Regions from separate parts of the Homo sapiens genome. Here regions 1, 3, 4, 5, 6 and 7 are each linked to region 2. The links are contacts of gene promoters, found by promoter capture Hi-C in blood cells and fetal thymus (Javierre and others, 2016). All regions are on one chromosome and are shown on one strand. Each heading gives the region's core, a stretch centred on a gene start or on the middle of the fragment in contact. The rest is flanking DNA. Distances are from core to core; before and after follow the strand shown.

Evidence for each region. Contacts are between HindIII fragments. The CHiCAGO score rates a contact against its expected background, and 5 or more counts as called.
Region 1: a contact is called between a fragment that was not itself captured here and the fragment with the promoter of EMILIN3 in region 2, in 3 of 17 cell types (naive CD4 T cells, non-activated CD4 T cells and endothelial precursors). The highest score is 6.4, in naive CD4 T cells.
Region 3: a fragment that was not itself captured here is called in contact with the fragment with the promoter of EMILIN3 in region 2 in 2 of 17 cell types (non-activated CD4 T cells and activated CD4 T cells); the score reaches 7.8 in non-activated CD4 T cells.
Region 4: a fragment that was not itself captured here is called in contact with the fragment with the promoter of EMILIN3 in region 2 in 1 of 17 cell types (activated CD4 T cells); the score reaches 5.7 in activated CD4 T cells.
Region 5: a fragment that was not itself captured here is called in contact with the fragment with the promoter of EMILIN3 in region 2 in 1 of 17 cell types (non-activated CD4 T cells); the score reaches 5.7 in non-activated CD4 T cells.
Region 6: a fragment that was not itself captured here is called in contact with the fragment with the promoter of EMILIN3 in region 2 in 7 of 17 cell types (naive CD4 T cells, activated CD4 T cells, non-activated CD4 T cells and 4 more); the score reaches 9.4 in naive CD4 T cells.
Region 7: a contact is called between a fragment that was not itself captured here and the fragment with the promoter of EMILIN3 in region 2, in 4 of 17 cell types (activated CD4 T cells, non-activated CD4 T cells, total CD4 T cells and 1 more). The highest score is 7.0, in activated CD4 T cells.

What each region holds. Positions count from the first base shown.
Region 1 is chr20:41,108,425-41,111,483 of GRCh38, forward strand. All of the region lies in intron 13 of TOP1 (DNA topoisomerase I), which reads left to right. All of the region lies in intron 4 of PLCG1-AS1 (PLCG1 antisense RNA 1), which reads right to left. Among named protein-coding and RNA genes, the nearest start is that of PLCG1, 28 kb to the right of the region's middle. RefSeq lists a silencer at 2,973-3,052. The HindIII fragment of the contact is 1,460 bases long and covers 949-2,408 here.
Region 2 is chr20:41,365,201-41,368,285 of GRCh38, forward strand. It overlaps EMILIN3 (elastin microfibril interfacer 3), which reads right to left and starts at 1,618. Exons shown (of 4, transcript NM_052846.2): 1 at 1,268-1,618. The coding sequence starts at 1,434. RefSeq lists an enhancer at 355-856. The HindIII fragment of the contact is 20,041 bases long and covers 1-3,085 here.
Region 3 is chr20:40,949,004-40,952,030 of GRCh38, forward strand. No RefSeq gene overlaps it. Among named protein-coding and RNA genes, the nearest start is that of TOP1, 78 kb to the right of the region's middle. The HindIII fragment of the contact is 9,551 bases long and covers 1-3,027 here.
Region 4 is chr20:40,867,840-40,870,750 of GRCh38, forward strand. No RefSeq gene overlaps it. Among named protein-coding and RNA genes, the nearest start is that of SNORD154, 150 kb to the left of the region's middle. The HindIII fragment of the contact is 1,493 bases long and covers 761-2,253 here.
Region 5 is chr20:40,898,060-40,901,083 of GRCh38, forward strand. No RefSeq gene overlaps it. Among named protein-coding and RNA genes, the nearest start is that of TOP1, 130 kb to the right of the region's middle. The HindIII fragment of the contact is 2,073 bases long and covers 644-2,716 here.
Region 6 is chr20:40,930,267-40,933,344 of GRCh38, forward strand. No RefSeq gene overlaps it. Among named protein-coding and RNA genes, the nearest start is that of TOP1, 97 kb to the right of the region's middle. The HindIII fragment of the contact is 3,416 bases long and covers 1-3,078 here.
Region 7 is chr20:40,972,009-40,975,034 of GRCh38, forward strand. No RefSeq gene overlaps it. Among named protein-coding and RNA genes, the nearest start is that of TOP1, 55 kb to the right of the region's middle. The HindIII fragment of the contact is 3,198 bases long and covers 20-3,026 here.

The DNA of each region.
Region 1 (3,059 bases), core at 429-2,928, 260 kb before region 2:
TATCCTGTCTTTGCCCCCTTTCTGGAAACTTGGATTGGCCTACTTGCAGTCACTGTCACAGTTACACTACTTCTAGCCTCAAAGGTCATTGAAAGGATTGGGATTTTTGAGAACCACAATAACACTTGCTCTAGGTACTGAAAAGGTTGTCCTGAACTCATTCATATCTTTTTATGTTCATCCCAGTTTGTTTTTGCTTTTCCCCCCAGGATTTTGATTACACAGACATCTTGCAAGCATATTTCCATTCTTTCTCTCCCACTCTGTGCCTGGTGCCCGTAGGATCTGAAATAGCATTGGAATGACAGCTAGCCTTCTGGAACCTGCAGTTTCAACCAAAGAAACTCTGATTCCAGATAACCCAGGAGTTTCTTATCCTGCATAATCTAGGAGTTTACAAAAAGGCTGCTTATGGGTACTCACTGCTAAGTACAATCCACTGCCAAGTTTGGAAGCATTACCTGCTCTCACAACCCAGGGAAAGTAGCCCTTAGTAAAATTCAGGTTTTTTCAAACCAGCCTTAACCTTACAAACAGAATTTATCATCATGATTTTTCTTTCAAATGCAGTACAGCAAACTTTAGGATCAATGTTGACATCGTATTGCGTTTAGTCCTGTTAAAATACTCTCAGTGCCAAATACACACTTCTGCCTTTTTTCTCTTTAGAGTCTAGAATTCTGTGGGGTTCCAAAAATGTATGTGCTTACAACCTTTTATATGTAACCACCTAGGGATTAAAGGGCTAAATGTGAAGGAAAGTATCTTTACAATATTCATCTTGGGAAGCTCTCATTTTGGTGAGTTCTATTAGAGAAAATAAGACACAAGCTCATTAAAAATATATATATATTCTGAGCCTGGCATCTTGGTATAAAATTCAAAACGTTTTAAATCTATTTATTAGTAAGACTAACATAGACCTAAGTGTGAAGACTAAAATATTAAAGCTTGTAGGTGATATCATGGTTGAATATGACCTTAGAGTAGATTCCTTAGGACAGAAAAACACCAACAAGAGAAACAATTGACTAAATGGACTTCATTAAAATTAAAAATTTATGTTCAACAAAAGACACTGCTAAAATAAATACAGAATTTACAGACTAAAAGAAAATATTTGCAACATGTTTATCTGAAAGGGCTTATATCCAGACTATACAAAGAATTCCTGTAGCTCCATAATAAAAAAACAGACATCCCATCCGCATAATAAAAAGAGCAAAAGACTTGAACATATACTATACAAAAGAAGATACAGGAATGGTCAATAAATAAGCAAATGAAAGAGTGCTCGACATCACTAATTATCAGTGGAGTGAAGATTTAACCACAGGGAGATACGAATTCCAGTTCTAGGTATTTTTACCTCAAGTGAAATAAAAACATTTATCCATGAAAAAACTTGTACAAGAATGTTCATAGCAGTGCTCTATTCATAAGAGTGCAAAACTGGAAACATCCCAGAATAGATAACACATTATGGTATAGTCATAGAATATACTATATTTATCAGCAGTTAAGAAGGGAACTACTTATGTATTCAACAACATGGATGAATCTTAAAAACATGGTTAAGGGCCAGGTGCGGTTGGTGCATGCCTGTAATCCAAGCACTCTGGGAGGCCAAGGCGGGTGGATCACTTCAGGTCAGGAGTTCGAGACCAGCCTGGCCAACATGGCGAAACACCGTCTCTACAAAAAAATACAAAAATTAGCCGAGGGTGGCGCACACCTGTAATCTCAGCTATTCAGGAGGCTGAGACATGGGAATCGCTTGAACCTGAGGGGTAGAGGTTGCACTGAGCCGAGATTGCATCACTGTACTCCAGCCTGGTGACAGAGCGAGACGCTGTCTCAGAGGGAAAAAAAAAAGTTAAAAAGGCAGACAGAGGAGTCTATATTGTATGATTCTATTTATATAATCTAGACTAGGCAAAATTTATCCATGATGATAGTAATCAGATTGAAGGATCAGTGGTTGCTTGGTGGAAATTGACTGAGAAGGGAAATAGTCATGTAAGAATACTGGCAAATGTCCTCTTCCCCATTACAAACGTCTGAGAAAGTTACTAGAAAACAGAATCCAATTTGCCTTCTCACCCCCAACTTTGTAATCTTGAATCCAGATCCTGATTCCACCCAACCACTCTGCTGAATGGATAGCAGCTATATTAGAGAGACAATATAGTGGGCCTACTAGTTTTAAAAAGTCATCCAAAGAATGTCATCTACAATCAGTTAAATTAGATTTTTACCCATTACTGAAGTGTGATTGAATTAGGGAAAGAGGAGAGGTGGTCAAAGGCAGCCTTCTCCAGTGGATTCCTTGTCTTCTTGAGATGGTTTTGTGAGACCTTGCCTGGAAGACCTAGGTGGATAGTTTATTTTCTAAAAGTAGTCAAGAAAGCTTGTTCAGGGCATTGAACACTGCAGGGACAAGCATACTTCTTGGAGGCCAGCCATCTCCTGCTGGATCTAAGCGGGGTGGCTTCTGCCTCCACCTCCATCTCAGCTTATTTGAGAGAATCCTAGATCCTTGGTGCAGAAGCCCAGCCAGCCTGTGAAGAAAAGTTGGTCTGGTAGTATCCTGTGAATGACGTGCGGGTTGGGTTTTTCTAAATCTCGTTTACCTGACTCCTACCTTACATTCCAGTGGTGTGACTAAGGAACTGAGCAAACGTAACCCTAGGGGACTTTGAGACAGGCTTTGGTAGTCCATGTGCACTAGAGTGAGGGGAAAGAGGCCACTCCAGAGTTGGGTACTCTACTGTTGAAGGTGAGCCTTTTGTGTCCAATTTTTCCGTGCATGTGTAAGAACAGTTGTCATGGAGATTTACTACTGACTTGTGCATGAGGACAGCTTATATCTCACCTTTTCTTATTCACCCTGTTAAATGTCAAAATGTACTAAGACTTAGGTATTTTTTCTGTGTCACCAACTACTAAATCACCCACCCATGATAGCAGGTAGTTACTGAAACTCTTGTAGCCAAACAAGTGCATAACACTGGTACACATGATGTGAGAGTGCAGATGACTCCTTAGCTTAACTGTGT
Region 2 (3,085 bases), core at 368-2,867:
GCCCACAGAGGCGCCTACCCTCCCACCTCCATCTGTGGGCCTCAGCAGGACTCCAAACTCCCATGTCTCTTCTGTCTGTTCTCTGTGTCCCTGGGAGCCAACGCCCTTGGTCTGGGGTCCAGCCCCGCTGCTGGTCTCTGATTCCAGCCTCCGTGATGGGTGGCCCCTGGGCTAAGCACTATTTGGAACCAGGAGCCTGATGTGGCTGCCCCTCCCTGCGTGGGGAAGAGGCCAGCCCGGATTCTCCCTCAAGTGCCCTGCCACACCCCCCCATCCTTCGCTGATTCCAAACTCCTTATCTTGGCATTTAAGGCTTCCGAGTCCCCACTCAGTGACTCCTTTGAGAGCACCATGTCTTGTCCTTCCTCCCTGCCTGGCTCCCGGGGAAATCCACCTCTCCTCGTAGTTTTGCAGCCCCTGCCTTTGGTCCTGTTCCCTTACTCTCAGAGCAGTTCTTGTACCACCTCCTCCAGGAGGCTCGCTGTGATGTACCCAGGCCCACTGAGTGTCGGTACTCTTCCTCCTACAACAGCTCTCAAATTCAGCTAGAATTCAAGTTCAGCCAGCACCCCAGGCAGAGCCTCCAGCCCACTTAACTGAGGCCAGTTCGCAAGCCACTGCCCACGAAACACCAGAAGCTGAGGCGGGGAAAGCAGGCTCCTTGATGAGCCACAAGGGCTGAGGAGGTGGCTGCCTGGCATAAGCCGACCGCTGTGGACGGCTGTGCCACAGCACAGGCCCGGAGCCAGGAGCCCGCTCTGGCTCTGCAGCCCGGCCACGCTGGGGCTCCCATGGGGTTGCTGGGGCCAGGCTGACTGCGAGAGGGCAGCGGCCGCCCGGATGCGCAGCTCTATCTCCTACCTGGCCGGGCCAGGGGAGAGAAGGGAGGCCCGGGGCGGGGGAGCCCCGCGTGCTCAGCGCGCGGACCGCCTTTCCTCCTCTCCCTCCACCTGGTCCGCTCGCCCGGAGTCTGCACACAGCGCAGCTGGAAAATGTTACTTCGCTGGAAAGGTTTCCGCTGGCACTGCCAGGATCCCAAGCCGCCGCGCCAGGCCCCCTCGGTTCCTTTTTCCTCGCCAGCCCCGCAACCTCCCGGAGCGTAGGGCGCTCGCCTGGGCAGGGGCTCGGCCCCGGGCGCCGCCCCCTCTGTGCAGCGGCCTCGGGGTGCCCGGGGCCTCGACGCCCCCCGCGGGTGCGGGCAGGTGGGAGCGGCGACGCGCGCGGGCCCATCCCTCCCTCTTCCCGCCCGCCGCCCGCCCGCGCTTACTTGTGCGGCCCCGGGCGCAGCCGCGGGCGCCATCCCGTCGTGTAGAGACTGTAGCGGGAGGCACCGGGCGGCGCAGGCCGCGCCAGGAGCGGGGTGCCCCTGGCCTGCGCCCCCGAGAGCAGCGCCGCGACGGCGCACAGCCAGACGAGCAGGCGGCGGCGGCCCATAGCGGCCCCCGCGCCTCTGCCCGGCCCCGCGCGGTGCCCCCCGCCGGGTGTCCGCCTGCAGCGCCGCGCCGCCCCCGCCGCTGGTCGGCCCGGGTCCCGCCCCGAGGGTCCCGGGGTCCCCTTCGGCCCCCGAGCTCGCTGGCCCGGCCGCCTGGCGCTTCGCGGCGGCTGCGTCCCGCGGAGTGGCCGGCGCTGCTAGCGGCTGGGGCCGCGGAGGGGAGGCGGGAGGCGGGCTCTTTGCGGATTAGCATAAACTTGGGGCCGCGCCGCTCGCCGCCGCCAGCCCCTCGCCCCAGCTCCGAGCGGACGGCCGAGGAGCCGCCTGCGAACAGGAGGTTCCAAAGGGAGCAGCCCCAGGTGGCAGGGGCGCAGGCCGCCGCGCCCTGGGAGGCCCCCCGAGCACACCAGCCACTCTGTCGCCTGCGGGCACGGGGCGAGACGCAGAGAAGCGGACCCCTGAGGCCAGCCTGGGCGTGGACTTTCCAGGAGTCGTCCACCCTCAGGATACGCTTGTCTTCAGAGTCCGTGTGAACCCGGGAACTGCTCTCCAGGGCTCTGGAGCCGAGATGGCCGTGACTGGGGGCACAGCAGCACCACCTCCCCCGCCACCTCTTTGGAATAGACCCCAGATCATCCCCGTTTGCTCGCTCTGCCTCCTGGCCCCATCATTGCCCGGGAACCTTAGTTTGATAACTCCGCTGACCTCTCCCCAGGCATCCCACCTCCCCCTTACCCCGCAACCTCTGCCACGTAGCCTGGTGGCCCGGTTGCACCTCTGGTTCTCTGGAGGCGCCTGTGTTGCCTCTCTGTCTTAGGTATGGGTTGCACCGAGCCCGAAAGGCCTATCACCGCCCCAGCCCAGCCAAAAGTGCTGTGCTTTTCGTGCAACTGAAGCTCTAAGCCGGCTGGTCAGAGAAAATCCTCAGGTCTTTCTCACAAGGCACTGCCGCGGTGAAGCCAGGCGTCGTCCACATTTTGCTTGTGAAGTTGACTCTTGGAACCCAAGAGTTGGGTTTTATCGTCGTCCTCATTCAGTATCACCTTGCTAACTCTCTAACCTGCACAGAGTCCTTCTGATTCTGTCATCAGAGCGGTACTTTCCTGGCCTTGTCTCATCCACACCGGTGGCTACAGCCGTCTGTGTCTTTGCCCCAGGAGCTGATAGGTGTACAGAACTCTGGGGCTTGCTTGGAGAGACCTCCCTCCAAATTGACCTTGAGATATGAATTAATGCCTTTTGGATAGGGTGATGGTTATCAAGGATACTGGAAGGGGCAGCTCCGAAACCCACATCTATTTCCTGCCCTTAGCTTTAGTGGCTTTTGGGTTCTGTGGGGCGGACATCTGACCCCAGCTAGGCCCATCCTGCTTTCCCCCAGGCTTTGGAATCAGAACACAGAAGCTGAAGGAATCCAGCTTCCAGGTGTAGGTTGTGTGAGTTTCTCAGGGCTGTGGTAACAGCCACAGACTCAGTGGCTTAACACACAGAAATGTATTCTTGCACATTTCTGGAGGCTAACTCCAAAATCCATGGGCCAGCAGGGCAATGCCCCCTCCAGTGGCTCTGGGGAGAAGCCTTCCTTGCCTCTTCCAGCCACTGGTGGTTCCTGGCAATCTCTGGCGTTCTTTGGTCAAGGATTCTTTGTAGCAG
Region 3 (3,027 bases), core at 420-2,919, 420 kb before region 2:
AGTGAATTCAGAATGGGGGAAGATCACACTAGCTTTAGCACCAAATCTTACAGTTTTGTTTACAGTTACTTGAACTAGGCTAGGAGTTGCCTTCAATCAGTGATTATGGAGCATGCTTTAATGAACTAGAAGAACAATTCGTAATCCATGAGTTGTTTATTATGCTGAAAGACACTCCTAAAGACCTTGAGAATGTTCCCTAAAAGTTTGTCCCCCAAGTAGATTTAAACATGCACCTAAACCTTATTTACACCCTTATGATTTTCAGAAAACACCTTCTTTACACATATGCAAAGATCCCAGTGCCCCTTTTCTGAATTGCAAATACAACCCAATTTCCAAAGATCATCAGCAAGCACCATCTGCTTCATTATGGCTAAACCCCTTAAAAGGGAACCCGGGGTCTCTAAGGGTGATGGAGGACTTGGGATGAACCACTCATAAGAAAAGCATCATCTTACCTTCTGATGAAATGGTGCTTATAGTGACCACAGGGGATTGGCCAAGGCTGAGGGATTTTCCCAACATTCTGAGGTTTTTTTTGTTATTTCTTTGCCTGAGGACTTTCTCTGTCCACAAAAGCCACTTTGTCCACCTCTGTGGCATGCCAGAAGTGCCACACACACACCCAAAGCAGCTCTCAACCAATGCATGGTGAAAGTCGGTGGACAAATGCCCCAGCTCCCTCACCTCATGGGTGGAATAACTCTATGGTGTAGTCCATACAGACTGCCACAGTTCCCCAGCACGATTAAGCCTCAACCACCCCGGGAGCGCTAACAGGATGATGGCCTCTTTATTGTCTGCCTTCTCCTCCCTGTCTCACTTCCTCACTCTCTTAGCTGTATTGCCTTTTATCTCCAAGATAAACTGCTTGCATTTGAGTCAATATCTGCTAGGACAGGGGTAAGAACAATACCTTTGGGACCATTGGGTTAGCAGTTGTGGTGGAGATCCACTCCAGTATGGCCCCTGTGCCTGCTGCATGAAAAGAGGATGGGCTTTTGGAGCAGAGATGCCTAAGCTCCAAATCTGGTCCAGCTATTTACCAGCTGTGTGACTTAGGGAAAGTCAGAGAGCCTCGCTGAGCCTCTCTGTCCTCTAGTAAGATATGGGAATAGTAATGGGAGCCACTGCAATCAGTTGTTGAAAAGATGCATTGAAATTCTGCAGACTAAGCCCATGGCACAAGCAGGTGTTTATTCAAAAAGTATTAGTAGATTTATTCCATAATGGGCTCTGAGTGTGGCACAGTGAGGTGTGCAAAGGATGAGGCCAGATCCCCCTTCCTGGAGCTCCCAGGGAGATCAGATGTAAGGAGATTAGTCATGATGTTGCCATTTATGCTGGGAAACTCACGGGCTGGGGGCAGCTGGGGAGCTGCACCAAGGTCTCCAAGAGTCTAGCTGTGTGGTCCAATAGGAAGCCACCAACCACATGTGGCTATTTAAATTTACATTAATTAAAATTAAATACAATGTAAAATTCAGTTCCTCAGTCTCACTAGCCACATTTCAAGTTCTCAGTAGCCACATGTGGCTCGTGGCTACCATGTTGGGCAGTGCGGATCTAGAACATTTCCACCATCGTAGAAAGTTCTGCACTGGCCTAGTATTGACCCGGAATTCAGATCTAGCACTGTCCTTGCTGGCTGTCAGATTTGGGCATAGGTCCTTTCCTCCTTGAGCCTCAGTTTCTTCTCCTGTGAAATGGGCTGTACTAATCATGTCACTCTAAGCAGCGCGGTTATTGCAAGCACCAAATTAAAAGTTTTCGTGAAACCACTAGACAAGCACCTTGTCTGGAAGACTCTAGAAGCATAAATAACGTTGACCAAATCTACTTCAGCATTTGGTCTTGCCTTTCTTCATCTTAGATCCCGGGGTCCCGAACCTCCCTGTTTTTCTACCTGGGCCCTCACCACACTCCACTTCCATCCCCACTCCCCAATCCATCCTCTGTGATCACTGTCCCTCTCATCTCCAACTCTGCCCACGCCTTCAGGCAATCAGCACATAGACTAAGTCCTTACTGGGGTCTGCACAGACAGAACCAAAGGCTTGGACACATGAAGAGTGGAGATCAGGGAAAAGGCTTTCCTGGGCTCTAAGAGATGAGCTTGGAAAAGGGATGTCCCTAAAGGCATGTTACTAAGTGGAAGAAGCCAATCTGAAATGGGTACACACTGTATGGTTCCAACTATGTAACATTCTGGAAAAGACAAAACTATGGAGACAAAACAATAAAAAGACCAGAGGTTGCCAGAGAGGGATGAATAACAGAGCATGGAAGATTTTTAGGGCAGTGAAACTATTGCATATGGTACTATAATGGTGATACAAGTCATCAGACATTTGTCAAAACCCATAGAATAGCCAACACCAAGAGTGAACCCTCGTGTAAACTATGGGCCCTGGGTGATACTGATGTGTCAAGGTAGGTTCGCTGATTGTGACAAATGTCCCACTCCCAGCAGGATGTTGATCGTGAGGGAGCTTCTGGGTAAGGGTGGGGGTAGGGGAATGTGGGAACTCTGTACTTTCCACTTAATTTTGCTATGGACCTGAAAATGCTCTAAAAGAATAAAGTCTTCTTTAAAAAAAAAGATGGAACTGACTTTCAGTACCTTGGTCCAGTGAAGATGCCAACAGCAGTAACCAGTTAGAGGATGGACGAGCCATCATTTGGGGGGCAAGTGAAAAAGACACATTCCAAGGCTCAATAAAAAATACATTTTTTTAAGAATGCAAAAGAAAAGATCCTGCCAGAGTGGAAGGGAGCAGCACTTAGCTTAGATCTGTGGCACCCAGGATGCCCTGGGACCCTCCTGTTCTTAGCCACACCCCAGCCTGACCCTACAAAGTCAAGCCTTGCAGGGTAGAACCTTCATAATCTTCCAGCCATCATAGCCCCTGTGCCTGACACTTTCATTTCTCTTTATTTGCTCATTCTCTTCCTTCCACCACACCATGCTCAAATCATCCAAAACTTTCCCTTTATCACTGAGCCTCCCTAATTAAGCTAACA
Region 4 (2,911 bases), core at 257-2,756, 500 kb before region 2:
GCTGAGATGAGACATGGGAACATACATTTTTTTTTCACATGTCCCAGGTGATTCAGACACAGGTGTCCTGGGGACTATCCTCTAAGAAACTCTCTTATTAAATAAGGTGTGGTGGTTTTAAATTGTGTCTACAAATGCTATGACACTCCCTCTAAAAAAATGAACCCTCCCCTTAAGAATCAGCTGAACTTAGTGACTTGCTTCTAACAAACAGAATACAGAAGAAATGATATTAAATAATATGTGATAAGTGGCTTCCAAGAGGAAGGGGCAGAACAAGGGCCAGCCCTTGAGCCAGGTGAGATATGAGAAGCACCAGGATGTACCATGCAGAGCATAAGAGACACTGCGGCTTCCTCGTTGCCCTCTCTTAGGCCACTCATTTTGGGGGAAGCCAGCTAGCTGCCCTGCTCTGAGGACACTCAAGCAGTCCTATGAAGGAGCCTGCATGGAGAGAAACTGAGGCCTCTTGCCAATAGCAGTACCATCTTGACACCCACATGAGTGCACCGTCTTGAAACTGGTCCCTCCAGCCCATCTGGCCTTCAGATAGAGTGACCATACATCCCAGCTTGCCTAGAACAGTCCTGGTTTATCCTGTTGACTGTGCATTCCATGCAATTTACCATTTGTCCTGGATAAAACTATCCTAGTTTAACCAATGGTAAATGATATAGTTATCCTGTTGAGGAACCCAAATTGCAGGCTAAGGCATTTGGACTTCACCCTGGAGGCTGTGGGGAGCCATGGAAGGGTTTTAAGCTTAGGAGTGATCTCATTCCAATTGTGTTTTAGAAAGATCCATTTGCAGAAAATGCACCAGTGTGCGGGAGGAACTGGTATGGAGGGTGGACTGGTTTGGAGAATGGGTGTGGAGGCTTGACCAGGGGAAAACAAGATGAGAAGCCAGGGAGGAGATAAACACAGTCCCTCAGCCAGAGTGGTCAGTGATCATGACCGCCTATATGAAGGCTGGAGCAGTGGAAGATGGGGTCACAGTAAGTTTAGGAAAACTTAGGAGATATTAAACAAACTTGGCTGCGGTAAGAGACAGAGAAGCAGCAGCCAGGGGTGATTCTGAGGCTATCAAGGGGGTATGGCCCCCACATTTCAGAGCCCAGAGCTCTGTCTAAAAATAGCTCTCAAATGAGTCACCTCAATTGCAGCCAACAAGGAATTGGCTGGTTTGTTATTGAATTGCAGGATGTTTGGCCAAACGGACTGAAACCATGTGTAGCCTTGGCTCGAGAAGTTCCCACTGGACCCAGTCTCTTGCTAGGGGCAGTGCCATAGCCCTGATGCATGCATAATCTCACTTTCTTCTCACAACAAATCAGCGAGAATGCCATAATTTCTTCTCATTTATCAGGCCTGATAGAAGCTGCCAAATGCTTCTAGAATGTAGGCTCTGTAGGCGGCGCAGCCAGAATTCAAACCCAGACCTCCTCAGATATTTGGTATCAGCTGGAAAGAGGTTTTTTTGGGTAAAATCCCTAGAAACATTCTCTTGCCTCCTTCCAGCTGGGATACATTGGCTGAACTCGAGTCACCCTCCTAATAAAAATTCCATGTTCCATCAGCAGAATGCTTCCATCCCAATTAGATCAATTTTCTCTAAGTAGCAATAAATGTGCTTTTCTTTCAGAGGCCAGCCCGACACATTAAGTAGGCTTGGGGCAGCCATTCCCCAAGCCTCTGGCTACGAGTGTGTGGGGTCAGGGGTCACAGCACCACCACCTCCAGCTCATTAGTGGGGCCCATTCATCTTTGCTGGGACACCAGCACTCAACATGGTGGCAGGGCTCAGGGTGGGGGTGTGTGGGCAATTCATCAGGGACTCTGGTTCGCCAGAGACAGGAGCAGAAAAGCAGGCCTGCTCACAGGCCGGCAGGAGCCCTAGGCCCAAGAGCTGAGAACCGGAGCTGCCTGGTTAAAGGTTAACCTGGTCTAGGATGTCTGTCTGTAAGGACTCACAGCCAGCTTGTAGGGAAGGAAGGGCCCAGGGCAGGCTCCTTTCAGATGCATCCGGCTCCTGCCTGCTAACAGTTTCCCTTCCGGCCAACTCCCCAAGCCGATCCTTGAAATCCATCTAAGCAAGGCCTACAGGGGCCTGGAGAATGATACTGTCACTCTCCTGTGGTGCGGGGACCTGCCTGGAATAGGCCCTTTGATTTGCAAATCCAGACACTGGAAATGGGAGCCTAAGAGAGCCCCACTCTATCCTGCCCTGCCTGGGCCACTGGGCCTGGTAGAAGCTTGACCAAAAGAATGAGACCTCTCAACTTCCCCAGGACTAAAGCTCAGCCTGCATCAACCTGTGAACCCACACACACAGCCCAAGTCACCCTGAGCCAAGCAGAACTGCAGCTCTGGACATGGGATTCTCAGAGTGGCATGGTAGTAGTTTGCTACGGATGCTGTATTGATGTACCACAAACTAAGTGGCTTAACAGATATTTATTCTCTCCCAGCTCTGGATGCTAGAAGTCCCAGATCAAGGTGCCAGCAGAACCATGTTCCCTCTGAAGGAGCTAGGGAAGGTTCTGCTCCAGGCCTCTCTCCCAGCTTCTGATAGTTCCCTGGCCTGTGACAGCATAACTCCAATCTTCACCTGGCGTTCTGCATGTGTGTGTATGCACCTGTGTTCAGATTTCTCCATGTGTGGTGTGTGTGTGTATGTGCATGTGTGCAACAAGGTCTTGCTCTGTCACCCAGGCTAGAGTGCAGTGGCACAATCTCAGTTCATTGCAATCTCTGCCTCCCAGGCTCAAACAATCCTCCTGCCTCAGCCTCCTAGGTAGCTGGGACTACAGGTGCATGCCACCATGCCTAGCTAATTTTGGGGGTTTTTTTGTTTTTTGGTTTGTTTTGTTTTTATTTTTTGTAGAAACTGAATTTTGTCATGTTTCCC
Region 5 (3,024 bases), core at 430-2,929, 470 kb before region 2:
ACCTGAATAATGTATATTATACCCATTAAGTAATTTCTCATCATCCACCCCCTCCCACCTCCCAACTCCTTTGAATCACCATTGTCTATCATTCCACTCTCTACATCCACGTGTACACATTTAGCTCCCACTTATAAGTGAAAACATGAGGTATTTGACTTTCTGTGTCTGAGTTGTTTCACTTAAGGTAATGACCTCCAGTTCCATCCATGTTGCTGCAAAAGACATTTATTCTTTTGAATGACTGAATGGTGGAACTGAATATTATATTTTATTTAAATTAATTAAAGTTAAAGTAAAATACTTAATTCAGCTATTTTAAAACTTTGAAGTATGTTTGGAACAACCTAGGTACATAATTCTACTTTCTCCAACAGTAAATGTTATGAAATCTAAATACGAATAAAGTATTTTCAATGGAAATTTATCATCCAAATTGAAATATGCTGTAAGTGTAAAATGCACAATGGATTTCGAAGACTTAGGACACAAAAAGCAAAAGAACAAGTATTTCAATCATAGTGTATATTGGCCATGTTAAGATGGTAATAGTTTGAATATATCATGTTAAATAAAATAGATTATTAAAACTAAATTAACTTGTTTATTTTTACTTCTTTAAAATTTTGTCACAAGAAATGTAAGCTTTTATGTGTGGCTCTCGTTGTGTTTCTATAGGACAGCACTGAGTTAGGAGGAAAGATGGTGATTTAGACTACAGTAATGATAGATCCGAGATATGTTTTGTAGGTCACATTGGCAGATCTTGCTGATAAATTGGATATTGGGAACGAGTGAAGGAAGAGGAAGTACCAGAGATGATGGCTAAGTTTCTGGCTCCAGCACTTAATTGGAAGATGGTGTCATTTTCTTGAATGAGGAAGACTTGGGGAGGAAAAGCTGGGGTAGGGGTGGGGACTAAGGGTTCCTATGGGACATAGTGAGTTTCAGATGCCTGTAAGATGCCAAGCGGAGAGCCGGGCATGGTGGCTCATGCCTGTAATCCCAGCACTTTGGGAGGCTGAGGTGGGTGGATCACCTGAGGTCAGGAGTTCAAAACCAGCCTGGCCAACATGGTGAAACCTCGTCTGTACTAAAAATACAAAAATTAGCTGGGCATGGTGGCATGCACCTGTAGTCCCAGGTACTTGGGAAGCTGAGACAGGAGAATCACTTGAATCCTGGAGGTGGAAGTTACAGTGAGCCGAGATCTTGCCACTACACTTCAGCCTGGGCAACAGAGAGAGACTCCATCTCAAAAAAAAGATGCCAAGTAGAGATATAAAACAGACAGTTGGATGCAGGGGCCTAGTATTCAAAAGCAAAGTCTGGGGAGAAGATCTAAATTTGGAAGCAACCACTTGGAAAAACTAGGTTTCTCCTCTGTTTATGCATTTCACAACAGACAGACAGACAGACAGATGGACAACAATGTTAATGCACTCCCCTGCTCTCCAGTTACAGTAAAATCCTTCTGAATATTCAAATGTTCCCTGGAGCTTTGAGTCTTCTCTGTATTTCACGAGCCACCAGCTCTCTCTTCTTCACTCCTCCCTCCCACCCCCCTGACTCAGATAATCCCTTCCTTGGCTCGCCCACCCCCAAAACTTGCTGGGCAAAACACTGTGGCAAAGACACCCATTGCAGACAGTCAGTAGCAGCAAGCTATGGGTCAGGATGTTTGCACAAATGCTTCACAGCATCATTTATCTTGAGGGATGTCAACTCGAAAAATGTTAGTTCATGTCACTGTCAGGGTAAATGCCAAAAATTAGCTTTCTTTCATCAGAAAACGGAATAATTAACTTTGCAACTGTTTCCAAAACTGCTAATTAATGGGTTTTACCCACTTGATTTGTCAGGCTACATTGCGAGCTGAACAGCAGCCTGAGCCCCTGGAGGATTCCCATCCTCCCCTTCTCTCTGTCCCTGCAGAAGTTGGAAGAAGTTACAGGTAAACAAGTAGAGAAAAGCAAGACCAGAGGAAAACGCTGCTATTTTGGAGTCGAGAGTTTTCCTTTGCCTTTCAAAATCGGTCTCCTACCACTTTTCTTTCCCACATCACTCCAATGGGAGGTCAAAATTCCCCAGTTGATCTCAAAATTGTGTTGCTCAGCCTTAGCGGATGGGGCAACCATCTACCTGTCCCCAAATCTGGAGGTCAAATCAGATTCCTGCCTGTCTCCCTCCACAAGGTGGTGGGCACAGGGGTTAAAGACAGGCCTTGGAGGCAGAGGGGGCTTTGAATGCCAGCTCTGATTCTCACCAGTTGTGCAAACTTAAGCAAGACACTTCCCTTCTCACTATCTCAGTTTCCTCATCTGTAAAACGGGATTCATGGTAGAGTGATGTCATTGAGTGGGTGAACGCTCCCAAATCTTACTCCACTATACCAAGGCTATATATCCACACCTTTTGCCTTTTAACTTTGCAGGGCATCCCATTGTGGGAAGTGTGGGGTACTTCCCTTTGATTTTTTTTTAATTGTGGTAAAACACACATAACTAAATTTACCATCTTCTTCTTCACCAGGCTGCTATAATATTGGCTACTAACAGTGTTCACCTTTTCTGTGGAATTGCCATTGGCTAAACAGGATCTGTCAGCTTGGGGCCAGTGATGGATTAGCAAGGGAGGAGTGTATCAAAGGACTTTAAGGTGGCACCAATGTTGGGGTGCCATCTTTCCTCCAGAGCTCTCCATGGAACCAGGCTGAAGCTTATGTCAGGCTAACACCTCATCTTTACTCAACTTTCTTCTGCTTGATCATGCTTTCTTAACTTCCCTTCTCTTGAGAGCAGAGCCCAGTAAAATATTTTCACAATAATCCTCATGAGCAGTAATAAATAGTTACTGTCTTCTTTGTTTTTGTTTTTGTTTTGTTTGGGGTTTTCTGAGACAGGGTTTCCTAGGCTGGAATGCAGTGGCATGATCACAGCTCACTGCAGCCTTGACCTTCTGGACTCAATCGATCCTCCCACCTCAGCCTCCCTAGTAACTGGGACTACAGGCATGTGCCACCAT
Region 6 (3,078 bases), core at 386-2,885, 430 kb before region 2:
AATGCCCCACTTGGCCCAGCCATCCAGGCATACAGCTCCTCAGTGCAGACTCTCATGGCTTCAGAGTACTCTGCTTCTAGACAGGAGGTGGAAGAAGAAAGGGTGGAGAAGGTAGATTCACTTCTTAATCTCCTCAGCCTAAAATCAGCCCAAAGTCTTTCTGCTCATAGTTCACCAATGAAAACTAGTCATGTGATCCCTATGATATGAAAGGGAGTCTGAGAGGTATAGGTCCTGTCTGGGTAGCTGCCAGCATGAACCCTATTCTATTAAAGGGGAAGCATGATCTTTTGGAGGTCAGCTAGCCACCTCTTCCTCACTATGTCATTCCTGATGTTGATGATAGAAGTAATAATAACCAATGCTATTGGCAATAATAATAACTGCTCTTCTGCATTAAGCACATCCTCTGACACAATCTTTGTGCTGAGAGTTTTCCAGGCATCATGCTACTCACTCTTCCATCCTTCCTGTGAGGTTAGAAGACTTCTGCTTCAGATTCTCTAAGAATGAGGTCAGATCCTGTTCCACTCTGCACTCAGTAGACATACTCATGCCATGGTCAACTCTCATATCTATGCCGTAGAGGCAGTCATGCTACCTGCCCCTCAGACCCTGAGAAAGGAACAGAGGCCATCAGAAGGGAGTTTCTGCTCATTTGAATTATATGTCACAGAGGCTAAGACCCCACCAGGTTGACAAGCTAGGCCTGGGTTCTGAGTCTTTTGAAAATTCCCTGTTGGGGAAGCGTATCCTCAGCCTGCTTGAACTCACCTACTGTGTGCACCCCTGCAACTGGGCTAACCATCAAGAGCCCCCCCCCAGACAGGGGAGATCCAGCCAGAAAAGTTGTTACCATCTTCACTCTCTGTGGCCTCCTCTTCCTATATCAGGAAGTCGCCAAATGGTGACCATAAAAATACATCTCCCCTTTTTCTACGGCTTATCATCAGGGGAATGAATGAGGACCCACGTCATCCAAAGACCTGAAGGCAGGTGGGAGTTTGCCTTTATACTCAAAAGCAAGAGCTGATTCCCTGTGTCTGCACTTATTGGGCCAATGATGCACACAAATATTACTGCATTTTACAGATGGAGAAACTAAGGAGTGACTATGTTAAAGTCAAGAGTATGCAGTAGCGGAGCTGGGAAAGATGGCTGAAAGGTGGGTTTGGCTCAAGATAGGGGCTCTCAAAGCACTTTGCCTGAGTACCTTGAGCTTCCTACTCAGATGTGTTGAGTCCACACCAATACACAAGTCTTGGGCTTGAAACCCTTCCCAGGCAGATCAGAGGAAGTGGGGGAGTGGTCTGCAACCTAGAAGCAGCTGCACAGGCAGCAGATGGTAACGGCTGCCTCTCAGATGGTTTTTTGTCACATAGCTTTTTTTCTTTCACATTATGAATTTTTTTCTGAAATCCTCTAAAAACATTGTTTTTATAGTAACAGAGGTGGCTGTATGTTTCTGAGAGATCCAGATCCCACACTCAGTCTGTCAGCCTGCTGGGATCTTTGCCTTTGTGACATATGAATAAAGTAAGTTCAAGCTCGCTGCTGCAAACAGTCCCTGGAGGTGGGCTGCCTCCTCTTCCCAGTAGCTAGAGGAGCCCTAGGATTCTGGAGAACCGAGCCCCAAGACCATCTTGTCCCGAGTCCCAAAGATAATGGGCAGTAATCCCAGGAGAGCAAGGATACAGAGGGACAAGGCCCCTAGAGTGGGTGGGAGTTCTGGGCTCCAAATATGTGTGAGTCTTCATAGGAAGGAACCAAGAGCAGCATAACCTCAAACAAGTATTTAACCTCTCTAAGCCTCAGTTTCCTCATCTGAGCATACTGATGCTGTCTACCTCCTGAGATTGCAGGGAGAACTGAATTATGCTTATGAAAGGGCCTAGCACAGCACCTAGCTCCCACTGTTTTCTCAATAAAGACTGGCTTTGATAATTATTTTGTTTGATAATTATTTGGTAATTATCCTAAGCCACAGGATAGGAAAAATAAGCAATAATGCAAAGACCAGAGATGATGAGAGCCTCAAGCCCAGATGAAGGGGTCATGGGTAGACAGACTGAGTCAGAGAGGTCCTTGACCTTACCCAGCAGGAAGGAGGGGCTATTCCCAGGTGAGCCAAGGCTGTGAAGAAGGACTTTGGCCTCTAAACCTCATGCCCAGTTTGGCCCCCACCTCAATTCTTGTTCCCACTGCAGAGAAATCTTCTTGCACAGCCTGGCAGGTTGTACCTTTTAATAGAGGAAATACTGGAAACATAGGTGTGACATTTCCTATCCTATAAATATGCCCTCTACTCAGAGCCAGATGATACTGAGAAGGACATCCTTCATGCTGCTACACAGCATGTCTGTAGCCTGTACAGAGGGAGTGGGGGTGAGGGGGCCCAGTGAGGCATGATAGTTGACCTCATAAGCAGATACTTTTCATGGGGATCAAGCTGTCAGTTTTGCAGGGGGACCTGGGAACTCTCAGACTGGGGGCATTGATTCCAGGAGCCTGGATGCAATCCACTGACCTACAGACGGACCACAGGATGTGCTGCTCCCTGGTGAGTGGGCTTGAGGGTATGCTGGCCCCTTACATGACCCTTGGGTCAGGATACGACCCTCAGCTTGTGCTGGACTTTGAACTACCAAATCCTATGGGTCTTCCAGATGATAAAGCCTCATTTAAACAGAATCTTTCCAACATCCCAATGATTGGAAGATGATGATTCTCATTTTACAGAGATAGAAAAGAGGGAGGGTGAAAGACGGAAACATTCTTTTTTTTTTTTTTTTTTTTTTTTTTGAGATAGAGTCTCACTTTATTACCCAGGCTGGAGTGCAATGGCATGCTTAAGAATCACTTCAGCCTCAATGTCCTGGGTTCAAATGACCCTCCCACCTCAGCCTCCTGAGTAGCTAGGACTACAGGCATGCACCACCAGGTCTGGCTAATATTGTGTTTTTTGTAGAGATGGGGTTTCACCATTTTGCCCAGCTGGTCTCGAACCCCTGAGCTAAAGCAATCCACCCATCTTGGCCTCCCAAAGTGCTGGGATTACAGGCATGCACTACCATGCCC
Region 7 (3,026 bases), core at 369-2,868, 390 kb before region 2:
GTAAACGTCTTAGATCAAAAGCTTCAGACAAGCAAAATGACTAGGAAGACAAAAAATGAAATTTAAAAAACTGGTAATGAACGTTAAACATATAGTTACTTATGCAACTAAGACTAAATGAGAATTGTAAAGGAGAAAATATAGCAGGTAATGGCTATACACCCTGACAATGTAGCTACAAGACCACTTTTTTTATTTTTAATTTTTGTGGGTACATAGTGGTTTGGTTTTGTTTTGTTTTGTTTTTGTTTTTGTTTTTGTTTTTGTTTTTGTTTTGAGACAGAGTTTCACTCTGTTGCCCAGGCGGTTGTGCAGTGGCGCAATCTCAGCTCGCTGCAACCTCTGCCTCCTGGGCTTAAGGGATCCTCCTGCCAAAGCTCCCAAGCTGGGACCACAGGTGCACACCACCATGCCCAGCTTATTTTTTAAGGTTTTTTTGTGTAGAGACAAGGTCTCACTATATTGCAGGCTGGTCTCGAACTCCTGGGCTCACGTAATGCTCCTGCCTTGGCCTCTCAAAGTGCTGGGATTACAGGCGTGAGCCACTGCACCGGGCCATAAGTGTATATATTAATATTTGTGGCTTACAGAGATATTTTGATAGAGGCACACAATGTGTAATCGTCAGATCAGGGTAAATGGAGTATCCATCACCTCAAGCGTTTATCCTTTGTGTTACAAACAATCCAATTACTCTTTTAGTTATTTTTAAATGTACAACTATTTTTTATGATAGTCACCCTGTTGTGCTAGCAAATAGTAGGTCTTATTCATTCTTCCTAATTTTTTGTACCCATTAACCATCCTTCTACTCTGTGTCTCCATGAATTCAATCATCTTAATGTTTAGCTCCTACAAATAAGCAAAAACATGCAGTCTTTTTTTTTTTTTTTTTTTTTTTTTTTTTTGCAGCAGAGTCTCTCACTGTGTTGCCAGGCTGGAGTACAATGGCATAATCTTGGCTCACTGCAACCTCCGCCTCCCAGGCTTCAGCGGTTCTCCTGCCTCAGCCTCCAGAGTAGCTGGGATTACAGGCACGCGCTCCTGAACCCAACTAGTTTTTTTTTATTTTTAGTAGAGATGGGGTTTCACCATGTTGCCCAGGCTGGTCTTGAACTCTTAACCTCAAATGATCCAAATGATCCACTTTGGAAGCCTCGGCCTTCCAAAGTGCTGGGATTACAGGCATGAGCCACCGCACCTAGCCCGAAGTTTGTCTTTCTGTGCCTAGCTTATTTCACTTAACATAATGACTTCCAGTTCCAACCATGTTGTTGCAAATGACAGGATACCATTCTTTTTATGACTGAATAGTATTCCATTGTGTATATGCACCACATTTTCTTTATCCACTCATCTGTTGATGGATTGCTTCCAAATCTTGACTATTGTGAATAGTGCTGCAGTAAACATGAGAGTGCAAATATCTCTTTGATATACTGATTTCCTTTGTTTTGGGTATATACCCAGCAGTGGGATTGCTGGATTGTACGGTAGCTCTATTTTTAGTTTTTTGAGGAACCTCCAACTTGTTCTCCATAGTGGTTGTACTAATTAACATTCCCACCAGCAGTGTACAAGAGTTCCCTTTTCTCCACATCCTCACCAGCATTTGTTATTCCCTGTCTTTGGGATAAAAGCCATTTTAACTGGGGTGACATGATAACTCATTGTAGTTTTGATTGGCATTTCTCTAATGATCAATGACTTTGAGCACCTTTTCATATACCTGTGTGCTATTTATATGTCTTCATTTGGGAAATGTCTATTCAGATATTTTGCCCATTTTTAATAGAATTATTAGGTTTTTTCCTATAGAGTTATTTGAGCTCCTTATATATTCTGTTATTAGTCCCTTGTCAGATGGGTAGTTTGCCAATATTTTCTCCCATTCTATGGGAGGTTTTTTGAGGGTTTTTTTTATCATGAAGGCTGTTGAATTTTATCAAATGGTTTTTCAGCATCAATTGAAATGATCTTATGATTTTTGTCCTTCATTCTGTGATTCTATGATTCTATGGGTTGTCTATGATTCTATGGGATTCTATGATTCTGTGATTCTGTGGGTTTCTCTTCACTTGTTGATTGTTTCCTTTGCTGTGTAGAAGTTTTTTTTAACTTGGTGTGATCCCATTTGTCCATTTTTGCTTTAGTTGCCTGTGCTTGTGGGTTATTATTACTCAAGAAATCCTTTACCTCTCCAATGTCCTGGAGGGTTTCCTCAGTGTTTTCTTTTTGTGGTTTCATAGTTTGAGGTCTTACATTTAAGTCTTTAATCAATTTGGATTTGATTTTTCTATGTGGTGAAAGATAGGAGTCTAGTATCATTCTCCTGCATGTGGATATCCACTTTTCCCAGCACCATTTATTGAAGAGAATGTCCTTTCCCCAATGTATGTTATTGGTACCTTTGCCAAAAATGAGTTCACCCTAGATATATGGATTCATTCGGGAGTTCTCTATTCTGCTCTACTAGTGCATGTGTCTGTTTTTATGCCAGTACTATGCTGTTTTGGTTCCTATAGCTATGTAATATAATTTGAAGGCAGGTAATGTGATTCTTCCAGTTTTGTTCTTTTCGCTCAGGATCGCTTTGGCTATTCTGGGTCTTTTGTGGTTCCATATAAATTTTAGGATTGTTTATTCTATTTCTGTGAAGAATGTCATTGGTGTTTTGATAGGGATTGCATTGAATCTGTAGATTCCTTTGGGTAGTAAGGACATTTTAACAATATTGATTCTTCTAATCCATGAATATGAAATATCTTTCCATTTCCTTGTGTCCTCTTCAGTTTCTTTCACCACTGTTTTATCATTTTAATTGTAGAGATCTTTCACCTCTTTGGTTAAGTTAATTCCCAGGTATTTTATTTTATTCGTGGCAATTGTAAATGGGATTAATTTCTTGAATTCTTTTTCAGGTTGTTCGCTGTTGGCAAATAGAAATGGTACTGACTTTGGTATGTTGTTTTTGTATCCTGCAGCCTTATTGAATTTGTTTATCAGTTCTAATAATTTTTTGGTGG